Linked DNA regions of Homo sapiens: region 1 is linked to region 2. Evidence: promoter capture Hi-C in 16 types of primary human blood cells and fetal thymus (Javierre and others, 2016). All regions are on one chromosome and are shown on one strand. The core of a region is centred on a gene start or on the middle of the fragment in contact, and the rest is flanking DNA. Distances in the headings are between cores, read along the strand shown.

Evidence for each region. Contacts are between HindIII fragments. The CHiCAGO score rates a contact against its expected background, and 5 or more counts as called.
Region 1: the fragment with the promoter of INSIG2 here is called in contact with the fragment with the promoter of FAM168B in region 2 in 3 of 17 cell types (fetal thymus, total B cells and neutrophils); the score reaches 11.6 in fetal thymus.

What each region holds. Positions count from the first base shown.
Region 1 is chr2:118,083,949-118,090,173 of GRCh38, reverse strand. INSIG2 (insulin induced gene 2) reads right to left here and starts at 1,703. Exons shown (of 6, transcript NM_016133.4): 1 at 1,633-1,703. It overlaps LOC107985940 (a long non-coding RNA gene), which reads left to right and starts at 1,743. Exons shown (of 3, transcript XR_001739662.3): 1 at 1,743-1,923. RefSeq lists enhancers at 1,749-1,938, 1,949-1,998. The HindIII fragment of the contact is 7,859 bases long and covers 1-6,225 here.
Region 2 is chr2:131,090,050-131,096,429 of GRCh38, reverse strand. It overlaps FAM168B (family with sequence similarity 168 member B), which reads left to right and starts at 2,970. Exons shown (of 7, transcript NM_001009993.4): 1 at 2,970-3,216. RefSeq lists a silencer at 2,797-3,516. The HindIII fragment of the contact is 2,381 bases long and covers 1,520-3,900 here.

The DNA.
Region 1 (6,225 bases), core at 454-2,953, about 13 Mb after region 2:
CTCACATATTTTTCATCATATGCTCTCTTAATTAGAATAGCATTCTTGAAATAGAATAAGCACTAACATTAGAAAAAAACAGACTTAAATCAATGCAACAGTTTAATGCTCCCTAAATAAAAACACATCTACATGTATCATGGGCTAGAGACGTTAAAAATTTCTAGGAAGAAAAGCAATATTTGCCTTATAAACACTGCAACTCTTTCCTCTCAACATTAAAACCCAAACATAGAAACCAGTAAGTTAGCTGCATTTACAGCCCCTTACAGGTTTTAAATGTCACATCTCAGTGCCTAAAAAAGTTACTCCATCGTTTCGAGATAAGTTTCTGAGAACAAAGAAAACTCTTTAAACTACTGAACTGCATTTTATTCTTTCCTTTTCCGTGTGACCATCTGCAAAAGCAACAGTTGTCAGTTAAACAGAATCAACCTCTTTCCCGAGTGGACATGATTCACAGCTTGGTCACTGTACAGCAGATGTGAACTGAGAACTACGACATAACACAATGACAAAACACAGTACTGAGCACAAAGTACAGGGAAAGAATGAAAGACAGAAAACAGGAAGAGCACACGTCTGATTTTTGTTTTCTTTGGGGCCCCCATTAGTAGCATTCCCTTCATCCATCTTCATTCAGTGGTTCACTATCAGGGCCAAACCCAAAAGTTACAAAACACCATCTAGCTACTGTCTGGCTGCTTTTATTTTTTCTGCACCAGGACGGGAGCACGCATTCCCCTGCAGTCCTCAGCTCCACCGCAATACTGATACCAAACAGTTTCAGTGGCCCAGCTGCCAAGCCTAACCATTCCTTTTTAAAGCATTTCTTCATCAATCCTACAAAACAGCAAGTTCTTCATGGTATATTTTCCTAGAGCATCTAGCTAATATCATACTTTAACAACTTTTTCCAACGTTAACTGGACATGGGTCATTATCACTTAAGTGTTAGCGCCATTGCCCGCGCCCACTCCCATAATCCACACTGCTTTCCTTCTCCATATTGCCAATCCCCACTAAGCAACCCTAAAATCTAGTAATTATCATCAAATCCACTTCTAGGCCCTGGCAAGAATTATTTGGCTTTACCGAAACACCTATTCCATAGGTAACCAATTCCAGTCAAAAATGCCAGAGTATTACTCCTCAACCCAATGCCCTATCTCCTTAGTGGATTATAAACTTACTACGACAACCTGTCTTCTTTGGATCCAATCCCCGCCCAAGTCTGAGTCTTCTCTCCCAGGCTACAAGCCCCCAAGTCCTGGCAGCTCTATGCTTGACAGCTCGCTGACCTCCACCTCATCAGACCATTGGGTCGCCCTTCTCGCCGTCCTCCAGCCTTCTTCCCGCTCAGACACTCATCCACTGTCCGGGGAGCCTCGACCCCTCCTATACCCCCTCCCCGATCCCGCAGTCCCCTTCTGGACCTTGCGGACCCCTCTCAGGTAAGCGGAGCCCCTTGCCCTGCAGGCCCATCAGTGGTCCTGGCTCCCCGCACCTGCCACCAGGGTTCCCAGGCTGCAAAAACACAAGTAGTTCTTCTTCCCAAGGGCCACCCTCCTCCTCAGGCCGCTTTCCTCAGCACCACGTCACCCGCGCTTCGCCGGGAGACCCCCAACTCACCCCCGCCTCCGCCATCTTCTGGGACCAGCCCCCGTACCCCCTACCGCCTCTTCCTCCTCCACTCCCACAACTCCGCCCGAGCTCCACTGCGCCTGTGCGGCCAACGAGGCCGCGCGCAGGCGATCGGGGCAGAAGAGCTTCCGGTTCCTGCTGTCAATAAGACGTGGACCTGCGAGCCGGGGCAAAAGGGCTTCCGGTCTGCGGGAAACTGGAGGCTAGCGGTGGGCGTGGACCGTCGAGGTGACTGGCGGTTGTCGGATCTGCTGTTGTTTGCTGACCAGGCAGCCGTAGGTAATGACGGATGCCCAGACCCTGTGGGCGGAGTAAAGGAATCATGCACTGATACACGCACACTCACCGAGGGGCGCGTCCGTCTGCGTGCCCCTCATCTCGTAGCCGAAAGGAGCGCGTTCCGGGGCAGGCCTCCGGGTACTTCCCGCAGAGGACCGGGCTTTATACTCTTTGCTCCTTTTCCTCCCCTAGTAAGTCATAACTTATTTTGGGAGAAGGGCATAGTTATTTGTCTCTCGTCTCCATGCTACAGCACTTTATGTGCTTTTCATTCAAAATCGTTCCTCGAGGACGACCAAGTAATGTGATTTGGGGGACAGTTTTCATAGGAAGGGCTTTATAAGTTTACACCAACATAAAGAAAACTTAAAAACCTTATAACCGCTTATTTTTCAGAAGTATTATTTTTCATTTAATCTAAAACCATACTTTTAGAACATGAAACCAAGCCAAACAGATCTTTGCAGATTGTGCAAGCGAACTTTTTTTTTTGAATGAAAGTGGTGCCATCAATGCAAAAGCAAGCCCATATAAGTGCCGAAAGGTACTCGTCATAAGGAGGAGTTGCTTCCCTATTCTGAATTTTTATTTATTTTTATTTATTTATTTATTTGAGACGGAGTCTCTCTCTGTCACCCAGGCTGGAGTGCACTGGCATGATCTCGGCTCACTGCAACCTCTGCCTCCCGGGTTCAAGTGATTCTTCTGCCTCAGCCTCCCCAGTAGCTGGGACTACAGGTACATGCCACCATGTCTGCCTACTTTTTGTATTTTTAGTAGAGATGGAGTTTCATCATATTGGCCAGGCTGGTCTCAAACTCCTGACCTCGTGATTCGCCCGCCTCATCCTCCCAAAGTGCTGGGATTACAGGCGTGAGCTGCCCCCTGAATTTGTTTTTTTTAAGCAACTCTTTTTAAAAAGAGAGAAAAAATAATCTCTCTTGAGTGTATTAGTTATTGAGCTATTCCATTTGGAGGTGGCTTAACCCAAAACGTGTATGGATGTGGTAAGATTACAATGGACTTGAATGTTCTAGATGAAATCTGGGCCGAGAGTAATTGCATAATAGTTTTCCAAAGGACTGTCAGATGGTAAACTCCTTTCATTTACTTTGAACTGATAAACGATAAGATGGATTTTTGTTTTTTGACCTTTTTATCTACATTTACTTCTGAAAATTGAAAAAGAATCTGAATTCCAACAAAATGTTTCTAGGCAAGTATTTGCATGATGCTTCTCTAACATTTCCTATATCTTAGTGTTTTCTCTAATGTTTTCTGTAGCTTTCAAATTTCACTCCTGTAAGTTTTTACACTACCAGTAAGAAAGATCTGGGCCAATTATACAGAATGGACGATGATTTTTAAAAGAATAGAGAAAGCATTCAGAAAAGAGACAATAATTTGAAAATGTTCTGACATCATGTATTTCCTTAAAGCAATACAAGTCCTGTATGTCCAGTTCATGTCTACTCCAACCGAGCTTTTTTCAGACACTTAGAAATTGCCTTCAAGAAAATCCTTATGGAACATTGTAACCTAGAGGGGCATTTATTTTCGTTTAAATATGTATTAATTGCAAGTAGTGACAGAACCTAAAAAGCAAAAACCATATAGCACCAGTTCCAAGGTTCCTATATCTAATGCAGTTACTCCTACTGCAGTACAAGGAGGAATATAAAATCCCTAGGAGAAATACAAAAGGCCATTGTCTTCTTTGACCAGATTTGAGGAAAGTTTTCATGGAAGATGTGGTCTTTCAGTGGGCGTTGAGGGTAAATATGCAGATATGGTTAGCCTGTGCATTCTGGTGGAAGCTCAGAGTTGGAAAAACATGAAACAGATTGCAGAGTCTGGCATGTACAAAGAGGTATGGTGAGACATGTGAGTTCTAAACATCAGGCTCATGAATTTGGACTAAATTTTTGTTATGGAAACATGGAAATCCTAAATTAATTGATGCCAGAATATAAATTGGTTAAGAACATCAAGAAATCATAACAACTGAGTTATTTTGAAGTTGGTGTAATGTGGTCAATGGAACGCTGGTGAATGATCCTTGAAACCTGGATTGTATTTTAGCACTAAGACAGTATGCGTGTAATCACTTGCAATAAATTCATTTTTTTAGGCTTTCTTCTTTTCATCTGTAAAATGAGAGATTGGTTTAGATGATTTCTGAGGTCTTTTTTATAGGTAGAAGTATCAACAATTTGATAATTCTTGACCTCAAGAAAGGTTTTTTCCATTAGCTTTATATGTTGTTTGGTCTCCCAACCAAGAAGATCAAAGATAAGTTAGAAAACAAAAAGCCCTTTACTTAGCTAATACAAACACCCACAAAAGTTTATTGACTTTGTTGGAGTGAGATATTGTAGGAGTCACATTAATTATTGCCTACAGGTTGATGACTAAGCCATTCAGTAAGCCTCTAAGAACCTTGGACTTGGAAACATTACCCAAATTAAAAACATCCAAGATAATTTTTTTACTATTGCAATTTTCCTATTCAGTAGCTAGAACCCCACACACTACAGACCATTCTACTTTTTTGGTTTTGGTTTTTGTTACGGTGTTTTGATGTGAAATATGTTTGAGGGACATAGAAAGTCAAGGAATTTTGCTTTTTTGAGAGATCAGAATGGATTATTTACTAAGCCAGCTATCACCTGAGCACCTGGCAGGTACCAGACACTTGGCACTGGACTTTAGGAGGAAATCAATACAGACAAGCCACATTCCTTTGTGAAGCTAGAGTCCTGTGGGGGAAACACAGTAAATGGTGGAATTCATATGTAATTACAAACTGAGACAAGTGCCATGAAGATGGAACATCTCCATATTGTGATGGAGAATAAAGGGGAATACCTGGAGACCATGCGTGAGCTGAAGATTGAGAGGGATCTGCTAAGAGCAGGATGAAGAACAGGTGTGAGGGCACAAAAGCTGAAAAACTTGGTGCATTCTGGGAATTGAAAGAAAGGCAGAGCTGGGGGTAGCAATTGAAAAGAAAATTGCAAATTGAAGTTGTATTTTAACATCATGATTGATGGTAATCACTTTCTGTGTGCCAGGCACTGTGCTAAGTTAAATCTCATTTCACATGCTCAAAACCCATTTGAAATAGATACCAAATAGCAGATGAGAAATTAAGGCTAAAAGCAGTGATTCTTAACTTTGGCTGCATATTAGGATCACCCATAGATTTATTAAAAGTTCTAGTGCCCGAGCCCCACCTGAGCGTTGAGAATCACTGACTTAGTGTTAATCAGTCCAAGGTCACTTCATAGCTAAGTGGCAGAGAAGGCAGAAATTGAACCTAGATCTATTGGATTCTAAACCCTATGCTCTTAGTCACTCACTAGTGCCCTGTCAACATTCACAAGCACGTAGTAAGCAGCAGTTACATGTGGGAACTCTGTTAAACACTGAGACACAACAATGAATAAGACAGATCTCTTGCCATCAATAAATTCACAGCCTGGAAATGCAGAAGTTAGGTCAGCCCACCTCTACAGAAGCAAGTCAACTGAGAACTCTCAATGAGATCAGATATATTTTTCCTATTTTAAGCTAGATTGATGTAGGCAACTGATGACAGGGAATCTACGTGGGCAGCTAGTGCGATTGTCTGCTGAGAGGTGGTGCAAACTTAACAAAGGCAATGGCAGAGGATACAAAGAATCATCAGGACTTGATAACTGCTAATGTTAGGAGTGAAGAAAAGAAGGTGGAAGTTGATTTCAAAGTTTTGAGCCTGAGAGACTGAGTGAAAGTAACATCATTGATCTAGAACAAGAGTACAAGAATTGAATTTCAGGTTGAGTGAGTTTGAAATACTTGTTGAACATTCGGGTAAAAATGTCCAGTAGAGCAGTGGAAATGTGCATCTGGAGTTTGAATCCCCAAATTGGTCTAGAAATGAAGATCTGGAATTATTGACTTAATAGGAGGTAGTTGAAAACATGCCTTGCATAAAGCGTATGCTGTGTTTGGAATTTTTTAAAAGACAATAGAGATACGAGAAAGAAAAGAAAAACCCTGACATTGCCATACTTGAATATGTCAATAAAGCTATTTTTTATCTACAGTGGTATTAAACACAATCAATTCATGATTATCCATGATGAGTTTTTAATACTTTCCAGGCTTTCCTTGGCCACATAGCAAATGTAATAGATGAGACATAGCCAGAGAATGCAAACCAATTTTAAATATTGGCTAAATATTTAAGAATAATGCTATATGATGCATTCAGAAATGTAATAGGAATATCCTAGAACAATGTTTTCACACAAATAA
Region 2 (6,380 bases), core at 1,721-4,220:
GATCTCGGCTCACTGCAACCTCCGCCTCCCGGGTTCAAGCAATTCTCCTGCCTCAGCCTCCCCAGTAGCTGGGACTATAGGCACGTGCCATCATGCCTGGCTAATTTTTTTGTATTTTTAGTAGAGACGGGTTCACCATGTTAGCCAGGATGGTCTTGATCTCCTGACCTCGTGATCAGCCTGCCTCAATCTCCCAAAGTGCTGGGATTACAGGCGTGAGCCACCACGCCTGGCCAAGATTTTTATTTATTTTTAATTTAATTTTAGAGTAGGTAATGTATTCACGTGGTTCAAAAATTAAAAAAAAAAAAAAACCCAAACATGAAAATTATCTTTCTCACCTCTGTCCCCTATCTGCTCAGAGCCCACTTTTTCCCAGTCTCACCACAGATAATCATTGCTGGTAGATTTTTGGCTATTTTTTGGTATTTCTGTAAATATGACAATATTCTGTAAATGTAAGTAAATACAGATATATTTTTTCATTTCTACCTTTTTACATAACATTCTTTTTTTTTATTTTTTATTTTTTGAGACGGAGTTTCGCTCTCGTTGCCCAGGCTGGAGTGCAATGGGGCAATCTCGGCTCACTGCAACCTCCGCCTCCTGGGTTCAAGCAATTCTTCTGCCTCAGCCTCCCGAGTAGCTGGGATTACAGGCATGTACCACCACGCCTGGCTAATTTTGTATTTTTAGTAGAGACGGGGTTTTCCCATGTTGAGGCTGGTCTCGAACTCCTGACCTCAGGTGATCCACCCGCCTCGGCCTCCTAAAGTGCTGGGATTACAGGCGTGAGCCACCGTGCCCGGCTTTACATACTATTCTTACACAGAGTTCCATACCTTGGTTTTTTTTCATTGAATAGTCTACCTTGGAGATATTTTCATTTCAGTACATACAAAGTTTCCCCATTTCTTTTTCAAGTTATAGGCTATTTCACTGCATGATGAACCAGAGTTTACTCAGTCATTTCCCTAGGTGTGGACACTAGGGTTTGTTTCCAGTATTTTGCTACTATGCACAATGCTGCAATTAATAGGTGTGAACTCATTTTATTTCACACATCTATAAGTATCTCTGTAGGCAAACTCCCAGAAGTGCAGCTGTTGAATGAAACATTGTTTGTGCGTTTATTTTGACACACATCATCAGACGATCCCCTTTCCCATCCAGCAATGTCTGAGAGTGCGAGCTTCCTGGCAGCCTTACCAATAGCATTGTCAATTTTTTGGATGTTTGCCAATCACAGTGAAAACTGCTACCTCAAAGAGTTTTAACTTGCATTTTTCTTTATAGAAGTGAGATTGGATATTTTTCATATGACTAACAGCCAGACTTAGTCCTTTGCTGTGAACTCTCCTTTTTCTATTGGGTGGTAGGGCTTTTTATTGTTGACTTCTGGAAGCTTTTGGAATATTAAAGAGATTAGCTTTGTCTATTACATGTGTTGGGACTATTTCTTCCTTGTTAATCATTTATCTTTTGACTTTGCTTATGGTGCTTTTTGCCGACCAAAGCTTTTCATAGTCATGACTTCTGGATTTCAAGTAATAATGTAGAAAAGCCTTCTTTACTCCAATACTAAAAAGGAATTTCCCCATGTTTTCTTCTTGTCCTTTTATCACATTTATATTTTATTTTTATTTTTTTTTTTGAGACGGAGTCTTCCTCTGTCGCCCAGGCTGGAGTGCAGTGGCCCGATCTCGGCTCACTGCAACCTCCGCCTCCCGGGTTCAAGAGATTCTCCTGCCTCAGCCTCCAGAGCAGCTAAGGTTACAGATGTGCGCCACCACGCGCAGCTAATTTTTGTATTTTTAGTAGAGACGCGGTTTCACTATGTTGGCCAGGCTGGTCTTGAACTCCTGACCTCGTGATCTGCCCGCCTCGGCCTCCTATAAGTGCCGGGATTAAAGGCGTGAGACACCGCGCCCATCTGTTTTTATTTCATAAACGACTGAAAAAAGACCAGAGCCAGGCCTCCTCCCTTCCATCACTAATCTTTATTGCAATAACTCCCTCCTTTGTCGTCCTGTACCTAGCTCAGACCAGACGACACCCCAAACACAAACACCAAGACACGCACCTCTTTAATACGAAATAATAAACATACCTCCCCCAGAGAGACACCCTGAACTAACCAAATCATTGTAACTATACACTAAGCCTTACATAAAAATACTAACATTTGGCCGGGTGCGGTGGCTCACACTTGTAATCCCAGCACTTTGGGAGGCCAACGTGGGTGGATCACCTGAGGTCACGGGTTCGAGACTAGCCTGACCAACATGGTGAAACCCCCGTCTCTACTAACACAAAAATTAGCCAGGTGTGGTGGCGGGCGCCTGGAATCTCAATTACTCAGGAGGCTGAGGCAGGAGAATCGCTTGAACCCGGGAAGCGGAGGTTGCAGTGAGCCAAGATCGCGCCATTGTACTCCAGCCTGGGTGACAAGAGCGAAACTCCGTCTCAAAAAAAAACCAAAAAACCCCCTAACATTCTAGTACACTTCCCTGAACTCTTGTCTATAGAAATGATCCCGCACTTCTACACTTGAAACGCTGACTTGCATTCTCTAAAATCTGCACTCCTGAGCGGGCGCCCGCAGCCTCCGCACTGGCAAAGAATCTGTGAGCTGAGCTCCGCCCCGCTCCGACCCCGTAGTGGCGGTCACCCGGGGTGTGCTCGACTCCCGGGTGCGGCCTGAGGATCCGCGCCCTGGCGTCTGGGCACACACAAAGGTTTCTGCGGCGCGGGACTATCTCAAAATATAAATTAAATACTTTTTTCACAGACAGTTAATAAAAAAACTACAGCTACACCCGGCCCTTTCGCCAACTGGGACCGGCCCACTCCGCGCTCGCGCTCGCGCTCGTCCATCCGGGCGTCTCGAGGGCGCCGGCGGGAGCGAGCACGCTGCGCAGTCACGTGCCCGGCGCGCCCCCGTCGCGGCGCGCTCAGGCGGAAGTGAGGTCGGCGGCTCCGGTGGCTGCGCAGCGTCGGCGGGGAGCGCGGGCTGCGGAGAGGCGGGCCGGGCCAAGCGGAGCCGAGCGAGCGGGAGCGCGGCGTCCGGGAGGCGGCGGAGACGCGGGGCTCGGAGGGTCAGCCTCTTATCGTAGCAGGTCTCCTCGGCACGCCCCCCTTGTTTCGCCCCACGGCCAAGCCCGCCGCGGGCCGGCGTGCGCTGGTCACTGAGGCCCAGGTCGCCGCCGCGGCGCGGTGAGTGGGGGCGGGCAGCGGGCGACTGCGCGTCCAGGCCGGAAGTGCGGCGCTTTGTGCGGCCGGCTCGGGGCGGCGCCAAGGTCGGCCCGCGGCTCGGGGTCGCTGGGCGTCTGGACCGGCCTGGGCTGCGCTTTGTGCCGCGGGCAAGGCCGGGCGGGGGCCGGGGGCGGAGCTCGGCCGGACACGTACGCGTGCAGGTGCGGTCCGGGCGGCGCGGGCCTGCCGCCTAGGTGGCCGAGGTGGCTTCGCGGCGCGGGGCGTTCTCCTAAAGGTCGGGGTCACAGCCGTCAGGAATGCGAGCGTGAAACCCGGGGGCAGAGCTTTGTGACAATAGTCATTTCCAATGTGTAACTGCTCACTTTGTCTACCCACGAAGTAAAGATAATTTTTATTTTTATTTTTTTGCTTGGCGGAATCTGAGCGTTCTCCTTCCAGCTTGAAAAGGCACGATTTAAATTACAGATTTTTAAGATTTCCTTCAGAAAGGACGTTTCGTGGCCTAGCCTGGGTTAACTTTGAAAAAAGAGTGCAGTGCGCCTTTACGACGTCCACAAATAAGGGTATTTCTGTTTTATAGTGTATGTGAACATGAAGTGTGCATCTCATGGGCTGTTTGAGTTAATGTTTAATCATTAAAGTCAAACAAGAATATTTTGCAGTGTTTTCGCATGCAAGGAAGCTTTATAAATAAAAAGGTTTATATAGTTTCCACTCCTTAAACTTTCAGGTCATCCTTGTGTAATTTGAGATCACTTTTCTCAAATACTATGGATGAAAGATTCTAGATTAAATAAAACTTTTTGGTTTTGGCAAAAACAGGACACATTTTTAAGCTCTTGTAGATGAAGGAGTGGGTTATTTTTGCTTTGACAGCCAAGATTTGAGCAGTGTAAGGCTATTCTAATTTTGAAGCTAGTGTTGCAGAAATTGTGAAGATCTTGCTTCTCTTTGTCTTTACAAAGCAGGCTTACTTTGGTGGAGTTCCGTAGTTTAAAGGGAAATTATACCCAAGTTGTCTTAGACAGTTTCTTTTCCTGGATCAATTGAGCACTTTTTTTTTTTTTTTTGAGACGGAGTCTCCCTCTGTTTCCCAGACTGGAGTGCAGTGGCGCCATCTCGGCTCACTGCAAGCTCCGCCTCCCGGATTCACGTCAGTCTTTTGCCTCAGCCTCCCAAGTAGCTGGGACTGCAGGCGCCCGCCACCACGCCTGGCTAATTTTTTTGTATTTGTTTTTTTTTTTTTTTAGTAGAGACGAGGTTTCACCGTGTTAGCCAGGATGGTCCCAATCTCCTGACCTCGTGATCCGCCCGCCTCGACCTTCCAAAGTGCTGGGATTACAGACGTGAGCCACCGCGCCTGGCCGAGCACAATTTTAAAAGAACAGTACACCAGCGTAATAGAGTAATAGTTTTTTCATGCCTTGTGTCCAGTCTGTTAAGTCTGTCTGATTGTACTGTGCAGAAATACATGAATTCCTCCCAGTAAAATGCAAACCCAAACCTTGGTAATGAAGGTAAAGTTTGGGGGAGAGAACTTCTTTTCTTTTTTCTTTTTTTTTTTTGTGAGACGGAGTGTCGCTCTGTCGCCCAGGCTGGAGTGCAATGGCGTGATCTCGGCTCACTGCAACCTCCGCCTCCCGGGCTCAAGGGATTCTCCTGTCTCAGCCTCCCGAGTAGCTGGGATTACAGGCACACACCACTGCGCCCAGCTAATTTTTTGTATTTTTAGTAGAGACGGGGTTTTACCATGTTGCCCAGTCTGGTCTTGAACTCCTGACCTCAGGTGGTCCACCTACGTCGGCCTCCCAAAGTGCTGGAGACACCACCGCGCTCGGCCTATATGCTTTATTTTTTATTTATTCATTTATTTTTTTGAGACAGTTTTGTTCTGTCGCCCAGGCTGGAGTGCAGTGGAGTGATCTCGGCTCACTGCAACCTCCTCCTCCCGGGTTCAAGTGATTCTCCTGCCTCAGCCTCCGGAGTAGCTGAGATTACAGGCACATGCCACCCTGCCCAGGTAATGTTTGTGTTTTTAGTAGAGATGGGGTCTCATCTCACTATGTTGGCCAGGCTGGTCTCGAACTCTTGACCTCAAGTGATCCACCCGCGTTGGCCTCCCAGAGTGCTGGGATTACAGGCGTGAGCCACCGTATCCAGCTTCTTTTTTAAAAATATATTTTTGTCCAGGTGTGGTGGCTCACGCCTGTAATGCCTGCACTTTGGGAGGCTGAGGCTGGCATATCACGAGGTCAGGTGATCAAAACCATCCTGGATAACATGGTGAAACCCCATCTCTACTAAAAATACCAAAATATTAGCCGGGCATGGTGGCAGGCAACTGTAGTCCCAGCCACTGGGGGAGGCTGAGGCAGGAGAATGGTGTGAACCCGGGAGGTGGAGCTTGCAGTGAGCCGAGATTGTGCCACTGCCCTCCAGCCTGGGCAACAAAGCGAGACTCCATCTCAAACAAAAAATTTGTATATATTATACATATATATGTTCATTTTGTAGAGATGGGAGTCTCACTATATCGCCCAGGCTGATCTCAAACTTCTGGGCTCAAGCAGTCCTCCTGCCCCAGCCTCCCAAAGCACTGGTGTTACAGGCACTTGCCACCAAGTCTACAAGCTCTTGTTGATGTTGCCAGACATTACTGAGAATTTCCAATGTTGATTTTTCTGAGTATTGTATCTTGTATATTGGTGTTTCTGAGAGTGAATCTAAACCTCTTAAAATTAGATTTGTTGATATAAAATTTTAAAGGCCTCGTGTTATAGTATTTCATACTTAGTGCTCTGTGTGGAACTTTGTTTAGAGATGGTATGTTTCCAAACCAGGAAACAATAGTATATAGTGATAGGTCTTTCTTTCTTTTTTTTTTTTTTTTTTTTGAGACAAGAGTCTCGCTTTGTCGCCCAGGCTGGAGTGCAGTGGCACGGTCTGGGCTCATTGCAAGCTCAGCCTCCTGGGTTCACGCCATTCTCCAGCCTCAGCCTCCTGAGTAGCTGGGTACAGGCGCCTGCCACCGTGCCTGGATAATTTTTTTTTTTTTTTTTTTTGTATTTTTGGTAGAGACGGGGTTTCACTGTGGTCTCGATCTCCTGACCTCGTGATCCGCCCTCGTCGGCCTCCCGAAGTGCTGGGATTACAGGCGTGAGCCA